Linked DNA regions of Homo sapiens: all the other regions are linked to region 4. The links are contacts of gene promoters, found by promoter capture Hi-C in blood cells and fetal thymus (Javierre and others, 2016). All regions are on one chromosome and are shown on one strand. Each heading gives the region's core, a stretch centred on a gene start or on the middle of the fragment in contact. The rest is flanking DNA. Distances are from core to core; before and after follow the strand shown.

Region 1 (3,170 bases), core at 646-3,145, 170 kb before region 4:
TCTCACCTTCTGCAACCAGTATGGTGCCCGCCTCTCCCTGCGCCAGCCAGGCTTGGCTGAGGCTGGTGAGTGGGCTGCTTCCTCCTTCCACCCTTGCTCAGATTCCCAGTGACAGGAAGCTCGGGGAAGCCAGGTCAGCCCACACAGATAAACGAACTGGGCACCGAGGAGACCAGCAAAGACTTGGGCCTTAGAGCAGAAGGACCCAGATGGGTGGGGTTTGAACAGGGGGCCCCTGGACCTGAGCCTGGGATAGGAGCATCTCTCCCCTCTAAAAGCTGTGTTCACCCAAACTCTGAGGCCCATGCTACTGCCTCCTGCAGTGTGTGTGAAGTTCCTGGAGGATGCCCTGGGGCAGAAGCTGCCCAGAAGGCCCCAGCCAGGGCCTGGAGAGCAGCTCACAGTCTTCCAGTTCTGGAGTTTTGTGGAAACCTTGGACAGCCCCACCATGGAGGCCTACGTGACTGAGACCGCTGAGGAGGGTGAGGCGGTGGCCCTGATCACATAGTGGCCTCTTGGGGTCTGAGGACATGAGGACAAGCCCTCCCCAACCTCGGGGGCTCCTCACCCTGCCACCTTGCCCACCCACCCACCATATCCCCTTTTTTCAGTGCTACTGGTGCGGAATCTGAACTCGGATGATCAGGCTGTTGTGCTGAAGGCCCTGAGATTGGCGCCCGAGGGGCGTCTGCGAAGGGACGGGCTGCGGGCCCTCAGCTCCCTGCTCGTCCATGGCAACAACAAGGTCATGGCTGCTGTCAGCACCCAGCTCCGGAGCCTGTCACTGGGCCCTACCTTCCGGGAGAGGGTGAGTTGGACAGGGCTCCCTTGAGGGCGAGGGCTGGGGTCCTGGACTCCCACTGTCTGGCTAAGTCTGTCCTCCCACCCTTCCACAGGCCCTCCTGTGCTTCCTGGACCAGCTGGAGGATGAGGACGTGCAGACTCGAGTGGCTGGCTGCCTGGCCCTAGGCTGCATCAAGGTGACCCCTGCCAACCCTCCCACCCCTCTGTCCGCTTCCGGCACCCCCACCCCTGAAACCCTCCCATCTGCTCCCCTGAGCCCACCTCAATGCTCCCTCCCCTGACAGGCTCCCGAGGGCATTGAGCCCCTGGTGTACCTCTGCCAAACTGACACAGAAGCTGTGAGGGAAGCTGCCCGGCAAAGCCTACAGCAGTGTGGTGAGGCTGGGGGATGGAAGAGATGGGTGGAGTTCTGGGACATCTTGGCTGATGGGAGTAGGAGAGATGGCGCCAGGGGTGGGAGAGTGGGATGGGGCTAGGGCCACCCTTGACCTCATCCTCACTCATTACAGGAGAAGAGGGACAGTCTGCCCATCGACGGCTGGAGGAGTCCCTGGACGCCCTGCCCCGCATCTTTGGGCCTGGCAGCATGGCCAGCACAGCATTCTAAACTATTCACCCATGGGTTCCTGGTGCCCCTTTCCCCCCACTTTCAGGGCTCACCAGGCACTGGCAGGGAGGGTAAGGGCTGGCTCCAGATACCCCTCCCCCACAGATTCCTAGCAATGAAAATCTAATATATTCTTCTGTTGCCCCTGGGGTTGGAGAGTCAGTGCCTGCAGTCAAGTGCCTCCCAGCCTCGGCTCAGCACATCCCTTGCCACAAATCAGTGTCTGGGGCTTGGCCACCCTGCCGCTGCCCAGCCACATCCCTTGGTTTTGTATTTTATTTACAGAGTTTTACAGAAAATAAAAAAGCAAAATGTCTTTCCTACATGGCCTGGTACACTCCTGACCCTCTGCTCCAACACCCTCTGGCTGTGGCCCTGCCTGACACTGGTGTGTTCACACTGCAGCTGTGACAGTGCCATGTGCACTTGCCCTGGAAATTCAGGTGGAAGAAAGCCCAGAGGCTGGAACTGGGCTTGGAGAAGAGAGCAGGGGAAAAGGGTGGTTCAGCCTGCAGGTGGGGCCTACCCTGGGCCTGGGAACTACGGCCCAAGGTGGAGCTAAACTGGAGTTGGCCCAGAAAACACCAAAGGGTGCCAATCCCAGGCTGTGGCCTGGGAGCAAAGGGGAAGGGAAAGGAAAAACAGGAAGGGAAAGGAGGCACGGGGTGGCTGGAGCTTCTGCCCACCAGGGGGCAGCAGATCCGCGTCAGCAGATGCCAGGTTTGGGTCTTCTGCAGCCTGGGCAGCTTTCTGCAGAGGGGGCTGAAGGAGCTCCTTGAAGCTGGATGGCAGGGGAGAGGAGCTCCTTGCGGAGGGGAAGAGCTGGGACCTGGGAGGCAGGAGACCTGGATGGCTAACCTGTGACCCAAGACAGCAAGTCCCTTCCCTCTCCAGCTGTCTCCCCCTCTATAATAACAAACGTGCCTGAACTCTGTGATCCCCAACAGCCGGCCAACCTGTGCTGCTTCAGGAAGCAGAGATCCCAGGAGAGGGCTTGCCTTTGCCCCGCCTCGCCTTGCCCCAGAGCTGCCTGGCCAGTGAATGTGTTAACCCCAGAAGGCTGAGTCCTGCGTGAGGAACTGGAGTGTGGGGTGGGACTTCAGGATGGCAGGCCTGTTCTAAGGAGGGGCTGAGGGAGGCCCACACCCGTGGCTAGAGAAACAGGCTCTCCACCCTTCCCCTCTCCCTCAGCACTTCCAGTATCCAGGGGCAAGGAGGTGGTGCATACGCAGCACTTCCCTGACTCATTGAGGCCACTCTGATGTCCCAGTACCTGTGGCAGCAGCTTGGCCTGTGCAGGACGTGTCACGTTGGGGAGCCTGCCCTCAGGAAGAGCCAGTGAAGTGCCAACAGTCCTCTGGAGGGTGACCCAGATCCCCAGGGAGCCCTGCCCCCCAGTGTTTTAGAGCTAGGTATGAAGAGGTTTGGCTGGGGCTTTAACCACCTGCTGGGGAAGCCAAGCTGAGCAGAAAAAACGGCAACAGGAAGAAGCACAGGAAGCACCTGTGTGGATGCAAGTGGCTCATTCCAGACGCTGGGGCGAGGGTGGGCAGGGGCAGGCAGGCAGCCCTCTGCACACTGGCGCGGCTCTTTGCTCTCTGGGTAACGAAGGGTGGCACGGGATGGTGCAGCTCAGTATTTGGGGTGGTGAGCTGGAGCAGCATGGGGCAGAGGAGGCAAACAAATGATGGAGACCAGGCCAGCACCCAAGGCTGGCCACAGCTGGGGCCTGCCCCAGGGGTCCCTGGAGGAGGCCGGC
Region 2 (3,317 bases), core at 673-3,172, 210 kb before region 4:
AGAAAGAGAAGGAAGGAAGGAAGGAAGGAAGAAAGGAAGGAAGGAAGGAAGGAAGGAACCATTCTTGACTTGTGGGTTATACAAAAACAGGCAGGGTTCCACTCCTGGCACTAGGTTTGTTCTTGTGTTTGTTCTCTGTTCAGGGTTATGCCACGCAGAGGGTAGGAGGGGAATTAGTCCATGGTTATGTGTCCTCACAGATGACCACTGAGAAGGCCACCATGCCTAGTCGTCACGACTCTAGGCCCAGCAACTTGCTGAAGACTCTGCAGTGCTGGGGACCCAGGCATTTTTGTGAGGCTGTCCACACCCTATCTGCCTGTGAGGACTGGGCAGTCCATCTGGGGGTCTGGCTGCCTCTCCTGCGTGCTGCTGGGAGGCTAGGCCTGACTGTCATTGCTCTACGGCCACATCCCCAGCCACGCTCTTCTTTTTCTTCTTTCAGCCAGAGGGAGCCCTGAATTCATGCAGAGGAGTTTTTCTACCTTCCATCTGCTTCTGCATATCATCTTGTCTACTTAATGCCCCTCCTTCCGGATTTATAGAACAGTATGCATAATATGACCCCAACTGCATTCCAAAAAATAGATGTAGATGTAAGCTTAGAGATGCAAAGAAACTTTTTGAGAGAATTCACTATGCTTCTCGCGGGTGGTGACACAGTTCAAGGAGGTTCCATGGGGTGTAATGTTTATCTTTCTCTTTTGTCCTTCTGATCATTGAAATGATGCTTTGTGTGTGTGAACATGTATTACTTTTATAATTAAAATAGAAAAATTAATTTGAATGGGACAAATGCTCGAAGTCAAAGTCACCTGTTATAACTGCTGTCACTAACAGGGCAACTGTTTGAAAATGCTGCAGAAACATGAGAAATGTTCATGAAGTGACCCTGTGGAGGCTTCCGGTCACAGGATCATGTGAGCGCCACGATCACCCCAGGGGTGGAGCAGATGCTAAGTGTTCACCACACCCAATTCTCTTCCTGGACACACAGGAAGATGACATTTCCAGTGACATGCCCCACCTCTAGGCCCTAGTCTTTTTTTTATTTAAAGGTCTGAGTCTTGTTCTGTCACCCAGGCTGGAGTGCAGTGCTGTGATCATGACTCACTGCAGCCTCAACCTCCTGTGCTCAAACAATCCTCCCACCTCAGCCTCCCTAATAGCTGATGTCATATAGGCATGAGCCAGTGTGCCTGGCTCAGGCCCTACCCTTAAAAGCATCCCACCTGATTCACCAGCCCCCTTCTCTCTCTCAGTAAACTTGGAAACCACGCATTCCAGATGGTATAATTTACAGCATGATGGAAAAAGCCAGCTCTCCATGGGAAGCTGGCCAGTCTTCATTGGAGTACATTTTTATTGCATGAAGCCAATGAGACTTGATATTGTTTAACTCTGTGGTTTCCAAAGTGCGGTCCTTTTGAAGTATCCATAAAGTCTACACTAGGTTCACGGTAATATTAAGATGTTATTTGTCAGCTGGGCACGGTGGCTCACGCCTATAATCTCAGCACTTTGGGAGGCCAAGGCAAATGGATAATGAGGTCAGGAGTTTCAGACCAGCCTGGCCAACATGGTGAAACCCAGTCTCTACTAAAAATACAAAAATTACCTGGGTGTGGTGATGCATGCCTGTAATCCCAGCTACTCAGGAGGAGGCTGAGGCAGGAGAATTGCTTGAATCCGGGAGGCAGAGATTGCAGTGAGCTGAAATCTCACCACTGCACTCCAGCCTGGGTGATGGAGCAAGACACTGTCTCAAAAAAAAAAAAAAAGATATTATTTGTCTTTCATGAGTGTACAGTGGGATTTTCCAGAGGCTACATGACATGTGTTTTTTTATTTTGTTTTTTATACTGACAGAGGGGTCTTGCTATGTTGCCCAGACTGGTCTTCCAACTCCTGGCCTCAAGTGATCCTCCCGCCTTCACCTCCCAAAGTGCTGGGATTATAGGTGTGAGCCACTGCGCCTGGCTGTTTGTGACATGTGATGTTGAAACAGGTTGAGTATAGAAGCAGATATGGGAATTAAACCAGAATATTAAACCAGACATTGAAGAGATTTGCAAAAAATACAAAACAATACCACTGTTTTCACTTTCTTTTTGGTTTGGAAAAATGTAGTTATTTTTCATTAAAAGTATGTTGTGTTGGCTGGGCACAGTGGCTCATGCCTGTAATCTCAACGCTGGGAGACTGAGGTGGGAGGATCACTTGAGATCAGGAGTTCGAGACCAGCCTGACCAACATAATGAAACCCCATCTCTACTAACAATATAAAAATTAGCTGGGCTGGCTGAGCGCGGTGGCTCACGCCTGTAATCCCAGCACTTTGGGAGGCCAAGGCGGGCGGATCATGAGGTCAGGAGATCGAGACCATCCTGGCTAACATGGTGAAACCCCATCTCTACTAAAAATACAAAAAATTAGCTGGGCGAGGTGGCGGGCGCCTGTAGTCCCAGCTGCTCAGGAGGCTGAGGCAGGAGAATGGCGTGAACCCAGCGGGCAGAGCCTGCAGTGAGCAGAGATCGCGCCACTGCACTCCAGCCTGGGCGACAGCAAGACTCCGTCTCAAAAAAAAAAAAAAAAAATAACTGGGCTTGGTGGCATGCGCCTATAATCCCAGCTACTTGAGAGGCTGAAGCAGAAGAATTGCTTGCACCTGGGAGGGGCAGGTTGCAGTGAGCCAAGATCGCACCACTGCACTCCAGCCTGGGCAACAGAGCAAGACACCTTCACCTTCTCAAAAAAAAAAAAAGTTGTGTTAACATGTAATGGTTTCATGATATCATTTTAAATAAATTAATAAACATGTAAACATTTTCTCTGTTTTAATTTCTCACATGGTAAATATTAATGGTGTGAACCAAAAAGTGACTGAGGCATCTCAATCAATTTAGAGGTTTATCTTGCCAAGGTTGAGGACACGCCCGGGGAAAAAGAGACACAAGTCACAGTACGATCTGTGTCCTGTGCTTTTTCCAAAGAGGAAAGAGGCAGCAGGAGGGGAGGGAGGAAAGGGGAAAAAAGCGGGCAGGAGGGTAGGCAGGGCGGCAAGTGGTGACATTGTTGTGAGGCTGTGATTAGCAGCTCAGTGACTCTACATTTTATATGTGAAAAGGGGTCGGGGGAGTCAACTATGCATTGTCTCGGGCTTAGTAGATCTACATTTTACATAACTAAGCCTGTGAAATTACAGCTGTCCGTTTGGGAAAGGAAGGCAGTTTTTGTGGTTCCCAAGCTTAACTTTCCCTTTGACATAATGAGTTTGGGGTCCCAAGATTTTATTTTCCTTTCATAATAGATATAAC
Region 3 (3,532 bases), core at 149-2,648, 150 kb before region 4:
GAGGTGAAGTTGTCCTTAAGATGCATTCAAATTCTAAGAGCTTTAGGATTTTATTTTAAAGTACACACGCAAATGGGGGCACTCACCTGGGACTTCTGAATGGCTTGGGGAGTTCCTTGGTGGAAGCCACTTGTGGCTGACTTAAGGCCCTGGGGAGGAATCCTGGGCAGAGCCTTGCAGGCTGGTGCCTCCTGGCCAAAAGTCACCTCTAGAGACTGCTTTTTTTGCTTCAGGGATGCTGCTGCTGTCACAGCCATTCCACATCATCTACGTTATAGACTCCACCTAATTTTTTTAAACTAGACCATCTGTCTGCCTAATTTACCTGTCTTGGCTCCAGATGACTTGACTGTTTTGCCAAAAATTAGGCCCCTCTTCAAACAACTCAGATGCATTATGATTTAAAAAGAACAATAATGGCAAATAATGTGTAACTTTGAAGACCATGGTTCTCAATTGATGTGATTTGTAGGTGGGACATGGTGGCTCACACCTGTAATCCCAGCACTTTGGGAGGCTGAGGCGGGCGGATCACCTGAGGTCAGGAGTTTGAGACCAGCCTGGCCAACATGGTGAGACCCCATCTTTACCAAAAACACAAAAATTAGCTGAGCGTGGTGGCATATGTCTGTTTCTGTAATCCCAGCTACTCAGGAGGCTGAGTCAGGAGAATCACTTGAACCCGGGAGGCGGAGGTTGCAGTGAGTCAAGATCGTGCCGTTGCACTCCAGCCTGGGTGACAGAGTGAGACTTTGTCTCAAAATTAAAAAAAAAAAAAAAAAAAAAAAAAGATTAGTCTTACCACATTTGTTTTGTTGTTCTTGTGGGGTATTTGTTTGTTTTGGAGATGGAGTCTCGCTTTGTCTACCAGGCTGGAGTGCAGGGGCACGATCTCGGCTCACTGCAAGCTCTACCTCCCAGGTTCACGCCATTCTCCTGCCTCAGCCTCCCGAGTAGCTGGGAGGACTACAGGCGCCTGCCACCACGCCTGGCTAATTTTTTGTATTTTTAGTAGAGACGGGGTTTCACCGTGTTAGCAAGGATGGTTTCGATCTCCTGACCTGCCCGCCTCCGCCTCTCAAAGTGCTGGGATTACAGGCGTGAGCCACCGTGCCCGGCCTGTGGGGTTTGTTTGTTTGTTTTAAGACAGGGTCTTTCTCTTTTACCCAGGCTGGAGTGCAGTGGTGTGATCACAGCTCACTGCAGCCTCCACCTCCCTGGCTCAAATGATCCTGCCACCTCAGCCTCCTGGGTAGCTGGGACTAATTTTTTCTAGGTATGGGGTTTTGTCATGTTGCCTAGGCTGGTCTCAAACTCGTGGCCTCAAGCAGTCTGTCTGCCTTGGCCTCCCAAAGTGCTGGGATTAGGTGTGAGCCACCGTGTCCAGCCCATTTTTTTTAAACACCTGTAAACTTTCTGTAGTCTGTCTTCGTATCTTTCCTGCTAGTATCTTTGTGCATTTTCTCAGTGATTTAATATTTGAATGCAAAGTTGTGGCATTGCATATAGACTGCCAAAATACAGTCCAAAGGTGAGGGTTAGGATGGTATTCTTTCACACTTGATCCTTGTTTTTGGTCACTCTTGGAATTTTCAGGGGTAGAAAATTTCATTCCCTTTGAGGTATGCTGGTAATAATAATGGACTCCAGTATGGAAGTGTTGGTTGGACTAAATATGCTAATCACCTATTTGTGTTACTAAAAATTGCCTCTCAACAGAGGAGACTTTAGCTTCATCTAAGTATTAGTGAGTTTTGTGGAGTTTAGCTAATTGTGAGATGGATTTCCTCTTAGAAGATGTACCTCATGTGCCAAATTGCTTGGAAACTTTTTTTTTTTAATACATTTTGATTGAGGCAGTGGCATGATCATAGCTGTTGCCCAGATAGGAGTGCAGTGGCATGATCATAGCTCACTGCAGCCTTGAACTCCTGGGCTCAAGCAGTCTTCCTGCTGCAGCCTCCCAAGTAGCTGGTACTATAGGCGTGTGCCACCATGCCCAGCTGATTCTTTTATTTTTTTGTAGAGACAGGATCCTACTATGTTGCTCAGGCTGGTCTTGAACTCCTGGGCTCAAGCAAGTCTCCCACCTCGGCCTCCCAAAGTGTTGACGTTACAGGTGTGAGCCACCATACTCGGCTTTTTTTTTTTTTTTTTTTTTTTTTGAGACAGGTTGTCACTGTGTTGCCCACACTGCAGTGCAGTGGTGTGATCATGGCTCACTGCAGCCTTGTCCCCCACCTGCCCCAAGCGATCCTCCCACCTCAGCCTTCCAAGTAGCTGGGACCACAGGCACACAACACCATGCCTGGCATATATATGTATACGTGTATATATATATATTTTTTAAGATGGAGTTCACTCTGTCTCCCAGGCTGGAGTGCAGTGGCATGTTCTGGGCTCACTGCAACCCCGGCCTCCCAGGTTCAAGTGATTCTCCTGCTTCAGCCTCGGGAGTAGTTGGGATTACAGGTGCCTGCCACCGTGCCGAGCTAATTTTTGTATTTTTAGTAGAGACGGGGTTTCACCATGTTGGCCAGGCTGGTCTGGAACTCATGACCTCAGGTTATCCACCCACCTCGACCTCCCAAAGTGCTGGGACTACAGACGTGAGCCACCATGCCTGGCCTTTTTTTTGTTGTTGTTCTTCTTCCCTGAGACGAAGTCTTCCTCTGTCACCCAGGCTGGAGTGCAGTGGTGCGATGGTGGCCCACTGCAACCTCCGTCTCCCGGGTTCAACCAGTTCTCCTGCCTCAGCCTCCTGAGAAGCTGGGATTACAGGTGCATACCACCATGCCCAGCTAGTTTTTGTATTTTTAGTAGAGACTGGGTTTCACCACGTTGGCCAGGGTGGTCTCGAACTCTAACCTCATGATCCACCCGCCTGGGCCTCCTAAAGTGCTGGGATTACAGGCGTTAGCCACTGTGCCCGGCCTGCCTGGCTAATTTTTATGTATTTTGTAGAGACGGGGTTTTGCCATGTTGCCCTGACTGGCTTTGAACTCCTAGGCTCGAGCAGTCCTCTGCTGTGGCCTCTCAAAGTGCTGGATTGCTGGTGTGAGCCATCACACCTGGCTATATTATTTGGAAACTCTTTTTTTTTTTGAGACTGAGTCTTGCTCTGTTGCCCAGGCTGGAGTGCAGTGGTGTGATCTTGGCTCACTGAAACCTCTGCTTCCTGGGTTCAAGCGATTCTCCTGCCCCAGCCTCCTGAATAGCTGGGATAACTGGCACACACCACTACGCCTGGTTAATTTTTGTATTTTTTTTAGTAGAGACAAGGTTCCACTATGTTGGTCAGGCTGGTCTTGAACTCCTGACCTTGTGATCCGCCTGCCTTGGCTTCCCAAAGTGCTGGGATTACAGGCGTGAACCACTGTGCCTGGCCTATTTGGAAACACTTAGTTCAAATTTAGCTCTTTATTTCATTTGGGATTTTATTTTATTCTTTTTTTGAGACAGAGTCTCACTCTGTCGCCAGGCTGGAGTGCAGTGGCACGATCTTGGCTCATTGCAGCTCCGCCTCCTGGGT
Region 4 (3,016 bases), core at 202-2,701:
GGTGGTAAGAGATAACCTCTCACAACAGAATCTTTATCTGTGAAATAAGGATTCGACCAACAGAACCGTCTGTTGAAAATTTCCTCTCTTGGTCCAGGCAGGTTCTCTAAACTCCCAATCCCAAAGCAGTTAATTTTTTCACGTTTCCTGTAAAATGGATGGCCTTAAAACTCTTTTGTTCTCTAGTGTAGCTTTCCAGAAGGAAATAAGTTTCCTTATCAAGAATGAATCTAGCTTCCCCGACTCAAAAACAACCATCTTCTCTATATTGCTCCATATCACAATAAATTTAAGTGCCTTCCTTTTCTAAATTAAATGCTGTTCCCTTCAACTTAAGGGCCACACACTAAGGGCTATTCCTTTAGAGGCTTTTGGGCCCCACAGATCACAAAGGTGGTGCCCTGCCCTAGTTCTTTCTGGACATTTAAAAGGACATCCACTTTCTTGCCCTCAGGATAACATTATGGGAACAATGAACATAAATAAGACAGTTAAATAAGCTTCCCTGATGCCTATCCAATACAGCTTTCAACTCTTCTATCCTGCCTTGTTCTTTAGATCGTGCTGTAGTCTGGAGGGTAAACTCTTCACACAACCATTCCCAAGCCCTCATGTCCCTGTCCACTCTTCCTCCCTCACCTTTTAAGTGTGATAGGGCCTTGATGGGAAGACCTCACTTCACCTTTTGTCTCAAGTCCATCTGCTTCCTTCCAGAGCTACAAATACAAAGGTAGGCCAGGGCCATTGAGACGTGGCCATAGGGCACATGGGAGCTGGCAGAGCCACTCGCACCTTCTGGGGTGTCCCTTCTTCCACCTGTCAACTGAACACCCGTTTCTTAAAGATTTATCCCCAAAAGTCCCATCTCATTCTGAAAGGGGACGAACCAGCTACCCCACGAGCCCTTTGTCTGAGCTTCTACACCTCACACATCCTCATCCACAAAGCGTCCATCCTCACACAGTCAGGTGGTCCGCTCGGCACAGGGCGGGGGAGACTAGGTTTTTGCATCTGGTAAAAGGATGGGTTATGTCTCAGGTTCTTCCAGGATCCCAAATCCTATAATTCTACCACCAAGCCTGCGGGTCCTATTTCTGCGGTGGAAAGGGCGAATCCCAAGGCGACCCTCCACTCCACGCGCCTGCAGGCAGTTGGAACAAGCCCCCTCCAACCCCGGCTCTGCGGGTCCACGCCTCCAACCTCCGGCGCCGGGCCGCGGAGAAGGCCCTGTCGGCGCCCGCTCCCGGCCGCGCCATGCCCTCTTTCGCCCTCACCCGCCACCGGTGGCCGCCTCTCACCTGGCACGCTGGCATCGCCCACTCCGCGCTGCACTGGAAACCATGGGTCCGACGGGGTCTCGGGGGCCACCCATCCGCCTTAAGGAAGGCTGGCGGGGATGCGCGGGCCCGGGAGTCCAGGGCGCCGCCACCGGGAACGCGCCGCCTGGTTTCTAAGGAACTGGGGGCTCTGGAAAGGGAGGGGCGGGACGGCAGGAGGACTGCGCATGCTCCATAACGGGGATGGGCCTGCGCTGGGAGGGGCCGTAGCCGGGAGCTGCGCATGCTCGCTTTTTGGGGGCGGAGCTTAAGCAGCCTGGCTAGGAGGCTCAGGTTATTCATTTCCGGCGGCGGAGGCGGCAGTTTCCTAAGCTTGGCTTCTCTCCGGTCCGCTGACCGGCGTCAGGGACCAGGTTTTGGTAGCTGTGGGTAGCCTCAGTTGTCCTGGAATGAAAGACGGTTTCGTGTTGGACAAGGACATATCTGCAGAAGGCCAGTTCTCTCGAACTCGTCGGACTTCCTGGCTCCCTGACCCCCAGTGACTCGTTTTTCCGTTTTCTCAGGTGCCTGTCTGGGCTCCTCTTCCTCTGGATGTTTTTTGATTGTTCCTTAAATATCAGTGCTCTTCAAGACTGTAACCTCAGTCCCCTTGGCCTCTTTACTGAAGCCTATGCCCCACCAAATAGCAAACTATCCGCTAGAGTAAGGAAGCCGTTAGACCTTAGAATAAAACTGCCTGTGTAGGAAATGTGATTGGGGTTTGTATCTGCATGGGGAGCCCCCGTCCCTGCTTGTCTGACCCTCCTGCTGAGTATCAAGATCCCCACTCAGCTGGCATTAGGATGATCTCCCAGCCATCATTCCAGAGCAGCCTGTGGTGACAGAATATGTCAGCTGACCTAAGCGTGAGGCAGTTCCTACTGAGATATGCTAACTAGCAGCAGAGCTATCCCTGCTTTGAGCGGAGACAGGACTCCTACCACCTCTGTGAGGAGCATGGAAGGCTTCCAAAGTGATGAGAAGTTGTAACCCCTAAACCCCCCCTCTTCTGATGGGATTTTATCCTTTCTCTCCTGGATCCTCTAGAGCCAGGCAGAAGGAAGGCAGAGTCAAAATGTGCCTGTTTGATCTGTTTCTTAGTCATTGTTCGGAGTTCCACTCTTCTTGAGTAGGATTTCTCAACAGTGGCACTATTGACATTTTGGACCTGATAATTCTTTGTTGGGCAGGGGTGGGGGGAGCTGTCTGCATTGTAGGATGTTTGGCAGCATCCCTGGCTCTACCCAGTAGATGCCAGTAGCACCCCAAGCCCAGTTGTGACTACCAAAAATATCTCCAGACATTGCCAAGTGTCTCCCTGGGAGCAAAATCATTCCCAGTTGAGAACCACTAGTCTAGGGGGAAATGAGCCTACTCTGGCTTTACTTATATAGAACCAGGACTTTATGCTTAATCTAAAACCCATATTTTCCCCTTTATGCTACCTCTTCCCTAAGAGCATTCTATAGAGTAATAGTCCTGTAAGATTCTGCTGAGTGACACAGTCTGTAGTAACTTAAGTTTGGAAAGTGCAGGGTTAAGCAACACATTTTAACACAGGATTGAGCTTTTAATTAGCTGGTGGCGATCACTGTGAACATCCATAAGACAGTTTTCCTAATTTACTGGACCACCTCCCAATTCCAGTGACTTTTTTACTGGCAAACCTCCCCTAATTTACTGGCAAACCTCCCAATTCC
Region 5 (3,069 bases), core at 424-2,923, 240 kb before region 4:
AGTTATTTATATCCTACTGCTCAAGGTCATGGCCAAGGTCTGATTGCAAAAATTCAAAAAGATTGCAACCTCAGGCATAAATGGATTAATTAGCCATGGACCAAACCCTTCATCCAGATAAGGGGTAACGGACAGGGACCGCAAAAGGAGTACTTAAAACCCGGAAAACTTTGTAACTGAGCCCCTTCAGCCTCTTGCTCAGGCCCACTCCCACCCTGCGTAGTGCTTTCTCGCTTTAACAAATCCCAGCTGTCTGCTTCCTTCCTGTGTGTCATTCGTTTGTTACTTTCTGGGTTTTGTTCAATTCTTTGTTCGAAACGCTAAGGACCTGAACAACGCACACTCCTGGCCTTCCCTCTGGTAACAGGATGAGGGGCAGGCTTTGCGTGGAAGTAGCAGCAAGCCCTGGAGCCTAAGGCTTATTTGTTAGCCAGGAGTGATAGCCCCTGTGCCACGCTGCGTCCTGCGTTCCCCGCACTTGCTGTACAAGATTTTCGAAAGCTGGAGTGCGGCTCTTCTCTATTTTTCCCAGGGGCACCAGGACCCCTAAAAGCGCCCGTGTATGTGCCTCCTATGATAGGGTAGCCCAGGCCCTGGGATAAGAGTATGTGTGGTTTCTTGGCTTGGTGACACTCCCACCCCCTCCATGAACCCTCCCTCCTTTGACGGCCACGTTTGAAATAACCACAGCCTTGGGGTTGGTCCCATCCTTTATTCGAGTTTCCTTGCCCCTACCCTAGCCCCGACCCTGACGTTGGCCAGCTAGGTGCGGCTGCAGGGATTCATGGCAGTACCCAGCTTGCGGCAGTAGCAGAAGGCATTGAAGAAGCGGCAGTAGCACGTGGCACATGGGTCACAGCAAGGCACCTGCTGTCCCAGGCAGGACTCATGCAGCCTTACGCAGCGACGTGAGGAGCGGGGCTCGCGGTCCTGCAGGTCTAGTACCTGCAGGGGTGGGGAACCAGCACAGGCCTCTAAAGACAGATCCAGGGATCTTACCTGTCCCAACCTGTGCAGGATGGCAGTGGAGCATGGGAAGGGGTGGTCGGTAGTGTCGTCGCTGGTGAGGGAGTTTGGAGCTGGGGAGAGGAGCTAATACCCAATGCCCCCTCCCAAGGGCCACCACCTTACCCTTTTCCCTGAGCAGTTACCTCTGCCAAGGCCTGAGCCTCCTGCAACAGATCCTCTTCTGCCTGTTCTGCAGTTGTCTTCTTCAGTGGGGCCCGCAGGCCCAGGCCTGGGGCAGAGGATGTGAGGGCAGGAACCCCCATGCACAAAGCACCCACCTCCCAGGGGAGGGTTTGGGAAGGGAGAAAGAGGGTTTATGCCAGGGGAGACTATTTGTGGCCAGAGGGTATTCAGGCCCCGCCCAGTCCCACCCTTGCTCACACTGACCTGGGAGCTCTGGGAGCAGGGCCTGGTCAGGCCTTCTGATGCCCTCCATGGGGGCCAAGCCCATCTGGGCTCCTCGCGTGGCAGGCAGTGCCAGCAGCAGGGCACAGCTCAGCACCGCTGCGGTCAGCATGGCCTGGCTCAGCAGGAAGATGTACCACTTAGTCCCTCCTTATCCTTGGAGTCCCCTCTAGGTGCCCAGATAGAGACCCCACAGAGAGGAGGAGTCCCTGCCCAACCTGAGGACTCACCTCTGCCTCCGGGATTCTTGCCTAGAGAGTTCCCGGCCACCCCGTGCCCTTGGCTTATATGGCAGGGCCTAATGAAGGGCCACACGTGACTGATCCCTGCAGCCAGGCCGTGAAGGACCCTTCCTGGAGGGTGGGGGCACAGTTCAGGCCCTCACTCCCTGAACCTGAGCCTTTTGTTCTACAAGAGGAGTGCCTATCTCCAATTTGGGGTGAGGTTTCCAGGAGCCGATTAAAATTTGGGAGCAAGAGAGGGTGCCCAGGGTCCACAAATTTCCACAGGACAGGGACCTAGGAGCTGAGCAGGGCTAGAACCATTAGCAATAACAAGGCAGGCGGCCCTGAAAGCTTAATTTAATTTGTGGCCCCAGAGATGCTTACTCAACCCCTATGTGGCATGTTGTTTCCTGTGCTTCCAAGAATTCGGGTCAAGGACATTGGAGCGGGTGATGGGCCAATGGCCACTGTTGGGCAGGGGTAGGTGCAGAACCAGAACCTGGGTTTCTTTGGAGGGAAAGGGGAAGGAAAAGCCCACCTAACCAATCCTAGGCCCTCCTGACTACATTTCTGGTCCTCCCCTCCCTTTCTCCCTCCAGGTTTCTCCAAGACCGCCCACTCCTGCTCCTGTCCCCAAACCCCTTTCTGCCTAGGGTTCCTGGAAGCCAAGGAAACAGAACGAACTGTTCCCTGGGTGGGCGAGCCACTGCAGAGTACAAAGCTTTCAGGCCGCCTGCCTCATTAGCACTAATGGCTGCTCCCTTCCGCCCTGTGTCGTCAGGACTGTCTATGCCTGGTCTCATCAGCACAAGGCTGGGGTAAGGACTGCCCTTTTGTGGAGATGGCAGGACATACAGGACCCTGCTGCCCCTGCCTTCCCTCACCCCACTGCAGAGCTGTTTATCACACACGTGTCCATCTGGGAAAGGAATGCAGGCTGAATCAGCTTTGAGAGGATCGCAAGGCCCCAGTGCACAAACTGGGTTGGCACAAGGCAGTGGAAAAAAGATGAAGGGGGCCAGGTATGGTGGCTCACACCTGTAATTCCAGCATTTTGAGAGGCCAAGGTGGGAGGATCACAAGGCCAGGGGTTTAAGACCAGCCTGGGTATCATGGTGAGACCCCGTTGCTACAAAAAATAAAAAAATAGCTGGGTGTAGTGGTGCATGCCTGTAGTAGAGGCTGAGGTGGGAGGATGGCTTGAGCACAGGGATTCAAGAGTGCAGTGAGCTATGACTGCATCACCACACTCCAGGCTGAGCGACAGAGCAAGATCCTGTCTCAAAAAGAAAAGAAGATAAAGGGTGGCCAGGCACGGTGGCTCACGCCTGTAATCCCAGCATTTTGGGAGGCCAAGGTGGGCGGATCACTGGAGGTCAGGAGTTCAAACCAGCTTGGCCAATATGGTGAAACCCTATCTCTACTAAAAATA
Region 6 (3,222 bases), core at 11-2,510, 210 kb after region 4:
AACAGTCCATGTTCTGATGGGTGCTGAGCAGGGTAGGCCAGGGCATGTCCTGAATTCCTCGTTCCCAGCACCCACCCACCTGCACTGCCCACTTTTCCTCCGTGTCTGCAGCCCAGGCACTCACCCGAGAGACGGACAGAACCTGCAAGGGCTCTGCGTTTGATGATCGGTCATACTCGCCCAGGACAACAAAATGGCGGCCAGGGCTGCAAGGGGGTGGGATTAGGCAGCTGCAGGGAGGCCAGCGCGAGAGGGGGACAGCCAGGGGAGGAGGCAGGAAGAGGCGAGGGGCGGGGCAGGTGGAATGCAGGCACTCACCTGACATTGCAGTGGGCAGCAGTGACCACCCAGGACTGGCTGATGAGAGAACCACCGCAGAAGTGGAAGCCGCTGCTGTCCTGTGGTCAGGGCTCAGAGGTCAGAGTGGGGGTGGGCTGCTGAGGCTGCCCCTAGGCATGACGTACCCAGGACCCTGCCCACCCCTCTGGTGGTGTACCTGCAGGGACACCTGCCAGGGCCAGGAGCCCAACACTGCATTCTCCCCGTTGACAATCCTCTGGCTGAAGCTCAGTGCCGGTTTGATGGCAGGAATGCCGCAGCCTGGCCATTGGGCTAATGAGGACCTGCTTCCCATGCCTCAGCCCATCTTTCCCCACCTCCTTTTGGGTGCCCCAGGCTGTGCACCCCAGAGAGGTCTGTCGAGAGGGTACAGCACTACCCCTTCCCCAACAGGGTACATGCAAGCACCTTCGGGCCCCACAGCTATCTTGGTTATCCCTATCCACCCAGTCCCCCAGCCCTGCTGTTCTCCTACATCTGTCTCCAGCCTAGTCCCCGCTGTTCCCCATCTCTACCCCTGGTCTCTCTGCCCCCTCCCGACCTGAACAGTTCATACCCTTCATGCAGCCAGAAGGTTCTTTCTAAAAGACATGGACAGGTCTTCCTGTCTCAGCTTCCTAAACCCTCCCGGGCTCCAGGGCCTGGCTCAATCTCTGGTCCTATTTGTGAGACCACCCCACCTCTTGCCCCCTCCCAGCCCTGCAGGCCTGTTCCCTGCTCCACTGCCCTGGCATATCCTGTTTCTTTTGCCCACTCTGTCCACCTTCGTCCCTTCCAGCCAGCCTAGCTCCTTCCCTGGGCTGTTGCTGGGAGCTGAGTTGCTCCCAGGGCTGAATCAGGGCTGGTCCTGGCCCACTCACCCCAGGAGGAGCCGAGGAGAACCAGGCTTAGGGTCAGGCTGAGCAGCAACATCGTGGCAGATGTGAGGTTGGGAGCTGGGTCTGGCTTTATGGGTCTTCTCGTCCTTGAGCTAAAGCTCCAGGCCTGAGGCCAGGCCAGCTGTGTAGACTCAGCCCCCTCCCACGCTCCAGGCAAGACAGGCCCTTTAGGCCAAGGTCCCCTGACCGAGACCTAGACTTATCAGACAGAGCCCAGGTGTGAGACTCACCTCTGCCACCTCCCAAAGCCTGGCCTCTAATTGGCTCCCAGAACCACCTCCCATTCCAAATGTTGAGCCCTCGGTACTGAGGACAGATGGTTAAATTAGGTCTATAGTGACAACCTGGTGGCTGGGATCACAGGAGTCACCCAGGGCTAACAAAGGCACCAGGCTTTCAGAGAAGGCCGCTCAGCGTCCAGGGTGTTCTGACTGGTGGATGGAATGCTCACTGCGGTCAACTTTGCTGTGAAGGGCCAGGGGCTGTGAGGTTCTGGCAGGCTGGGAGTCCTAACACATCATCGCAGTGGTTCCTCGTCCATTTGGAACAGGAGTCACAGGTCTGCTCAGAGATGGTGACTCTCCCACCAGCACGTGGTTGAGTTGTACACAAACTCGCATTTGTCTGGCGCTGAAGCCTCCGCTCTTAACAATGAGATGATACTTATGAAGGGCCTGGCATTTAGGAGGGCAAAGTGTGAGCTCTTGGTGCCTGGCCGACCGTGGACTGAGGCTGCAGGTGGAGAGTGACAGACATCAAATCTCTGCCACCCTCTTTAGGCCTTGGGGCTCCCATGGGCAAGCCCCTGGTGTCTGTAGCCCATTTGTTACTGAGCTGCAGACCAAGCTTGAAGGGAGAAGACACCCTGTGTGCAAAGTTCCAACAGGTGCATTGGCTGGCGGCCTTCTGGGAGTGTGAGGGCTTTAACTGATTCAAGAACAGATCAGGGCTGGGTGTGGTGGCTCACACCTGTAATCCCAAAACTTTGGGAGGCAGACGTAGGAGGCTTGATTCCAGGAGTTCGAGACCAGCCTGAGCAACATCATGAAACCCTGTCTCTACAAAAAAAATTTTTTTAAATTAAGAAATGAGCTGGGTATGATGGTACACACCTGTAGTCCCAGCAACTCAGAAGGCTGAGGCAGGAGGGATCACTTGAGCCCTTAAGTTCAAGGCTGCAGTGAGCCATGAGTGCACCACTGCATTCCGGCCTGGGCGATGGAGCTAGACCCCATCTCAAAGAAACAGCATCAGCCAAAAAATGAGATGAATTGGCTGGGCACGGTGGCTCACGCCTGTAATCCCAGCACTTTGGGAGGCCGACGCGGGCGGATCATGAGGTCAGGAGATCAAGACCATCCTGGCTAACAGGTTCAGTAGAAACCTCGTCTCTACTAAAAATACAAAAAAAAAAAAAATTAGCCGGGCGTGGTGGCGGGCACCTGTAGTCCCAGCTACTCGGGAGGCTGAGGCAGGAGAATGGCGTGAACCTGGGAGGCGGAGCTTCCAGTGAGCTGAGATTGCGCCACTGCACTCCAGAGCCTGGGTGACAGAGCGAGACTCCGTCTCAAAAAAAAAAAAAAAAAAAAGGAGCGATGAATTAATGGATAGAGGGATGAATAGATGATAAAACAAATATAACAAAATATTTGCACTCCAGAGCCTGGGTGACAGAGCGAGACGCCGTCTCAAAAAAAAAAAAAAAAAAAAAAAAAGGAGCGATGAATTAATGGATAGAGGGATGAATAGATGATAAAACAAATATAACAAAATACTGTCAGGTCTGTGGTGACCTGACAGTATAAGGGTATTCAATATACAACTCTTTCTACTTTTCTGTTACATTTACAAATGTTCATTAATAGAATGTTGGGGTGCAGGGAGCACACTCAGCGGCCTGGGGATGTGCAGCCCGGCATAGACCCTCCCTGGGCCCTGGGTAGACTCTCCCTGACATTTCTGAAGCTCCAGCGGAGTTCAGCCGTTCTCGCTGAGGACAGGATGC

Evidence for each region. The method cuts DNA at HindIII sites, captures the fragments that hold promoters and counts their contacts. A CHiCAGO score of 5 or more calls a contact.
Region 1: a fragment that was not itself captured here is called in contact with the fragment with the promoter of GFOD2 in region 4 in 1 of 17 cell types (neutrophils); the score reaches 5.5 in neutrophils.
Region 2: a contact is called between a fragment that was not itself captured here and the fragment with the promoter of GFOD2 in region 4, in 1 of 17 cell types (endothelial precursors). The highest score is 5.1, in endothelial precursors.
Region 3: a contact is called between a fragment that was not itself captured here and the fragment with the promoter of GFOD2 in region 4, in 1 of 17 cell types (endothelial precursors). The highest score is 5.4, in endothelial precursors.
Region 5: a contact is called between the fragment with the promoter of AGRP here and the fragment with the promoter of GFOD2 in region 4, in 2 of 17 cell types (endothelial precursors and fetal thymus). The highest score is 5.4, in endothelial precursors.
Region 6: the fragment with the promoter of CTRL here is called in contact with the fragment with the promoter of GFOD2 in region 4 in 11 of 17 cell types (erythroblasts, megakaryocytes, endothelial precursors and 8 more); the score reaches 10.9 in erythroblasts.

What each region holds. Positions count from the first base shown.
Region 1 is chr16:67,545,053-67,548,222 of GRCh38, forward strand. It overlaps RIPOR1 (RHO family interacting cell polarization regulator 1), which reads left to right. Exons shown (of 22, transcript NM_024519.4): 17 at 1-65; 18 at 324-482; 19 at 612-808; 20 at 897-980; 21 at 1,089-1,179; 22 at 1,314-1,734. The coding sequence ends at 1,411. Among named protein-coding and RNA genes, the nearest start is that of CTCF-DT, 16 kb to the right of the region's middle. RefSeq lists an enhancer at 1,945-2,004 and a silencer at 1,954-2,248. The HindIII fragment of the contact is 5,451 bases long and covers 1-3,170 here.
Region 2 is chr16:67,503,580-67,506,896 of GRCh38, forward strand. ATP6V0D1-DT (ATP6V0D1 divergent transcript) reads left to right here. Exons shown (of 4, transcript NR_184227.1): 4 at 446-2,824. Among named protein-coding and RNA genes, the nearest start is that of AGRP, 22 kb to the left of the region's middle. RefSeq lists an enhancer at 1,149-1,258. The HindIII fragment of the contact is 2,646 bases long and covers 600-3,245 here.
Region 3 is chr16:67,565,751-67,569,282 of GRCh38, forward strand. The region is part of intron 1 of CTCF (CCCTC-binding factor); the gene reads left to right. Among named protein-coding and RNA genes, the nearest start is that of CTCF, 5.0 kb to the left of the region's middle. The HindIII fragment of the contact is 4,800 bases long and covers 1-3,532 here.
Region 4 is chr16:67,717,865-67,720,880 of GRCh38, forward strand. GFOD2 (Gfo/Idh/MocA-like oxidoreductase domain containing 2) reads right to left here and starts at 1,452. Exons shown (of 3, transcript NM_030819.4): 1 at 1,299-1,452. RefSeq lists an enhancer at 770-849 and silencers at 1,210-1,259, 1,320-1,369. The HindIII fragment of the contact is 1,149 bases long and covers 499-1,647 here.
Region 5 is chr16:67,481,874-67,484,942 of GRCh38, forward strand. It overlaps AGRP (agouti related neuropeptide), which reads right to left and starts at 1,674. Exons shown (of 4, transcript NM_001138.2): 1 at 1,644-1,674; 2 at 1,396-1,528; 3 at 1,152-1,237; 4 at 698-945. The coding sequence starts at 1,525. The coding sequence ends at 763. ATP6V0D1-DT (ATP6V0D1 divergent transcript) reads left to right here. Exons shown (of 4, transcript NR_184227.1): 2 at 2,237-2,455. The HindIII fragment of the contact is 2,406 bases long and covers 1-1,986 here.
Region 6 is chr16:67,930,602-67,933,823 of GRCh38, forward strand. CTRL (chymotrypsin like) reads right to left here and starts at 1,261. Exons shown (of 7, transcript NM_001907.3): 1 at 1,200-1,261; 2 at 497-600; 3 at 319-398; 4 at 125-206. The coding sequence starts at 1,251. RefSeq lists enhancers at 1-235, 236-752. The HindIII fragment of the contact is 4,510 bases long and covers 1-2,061 here.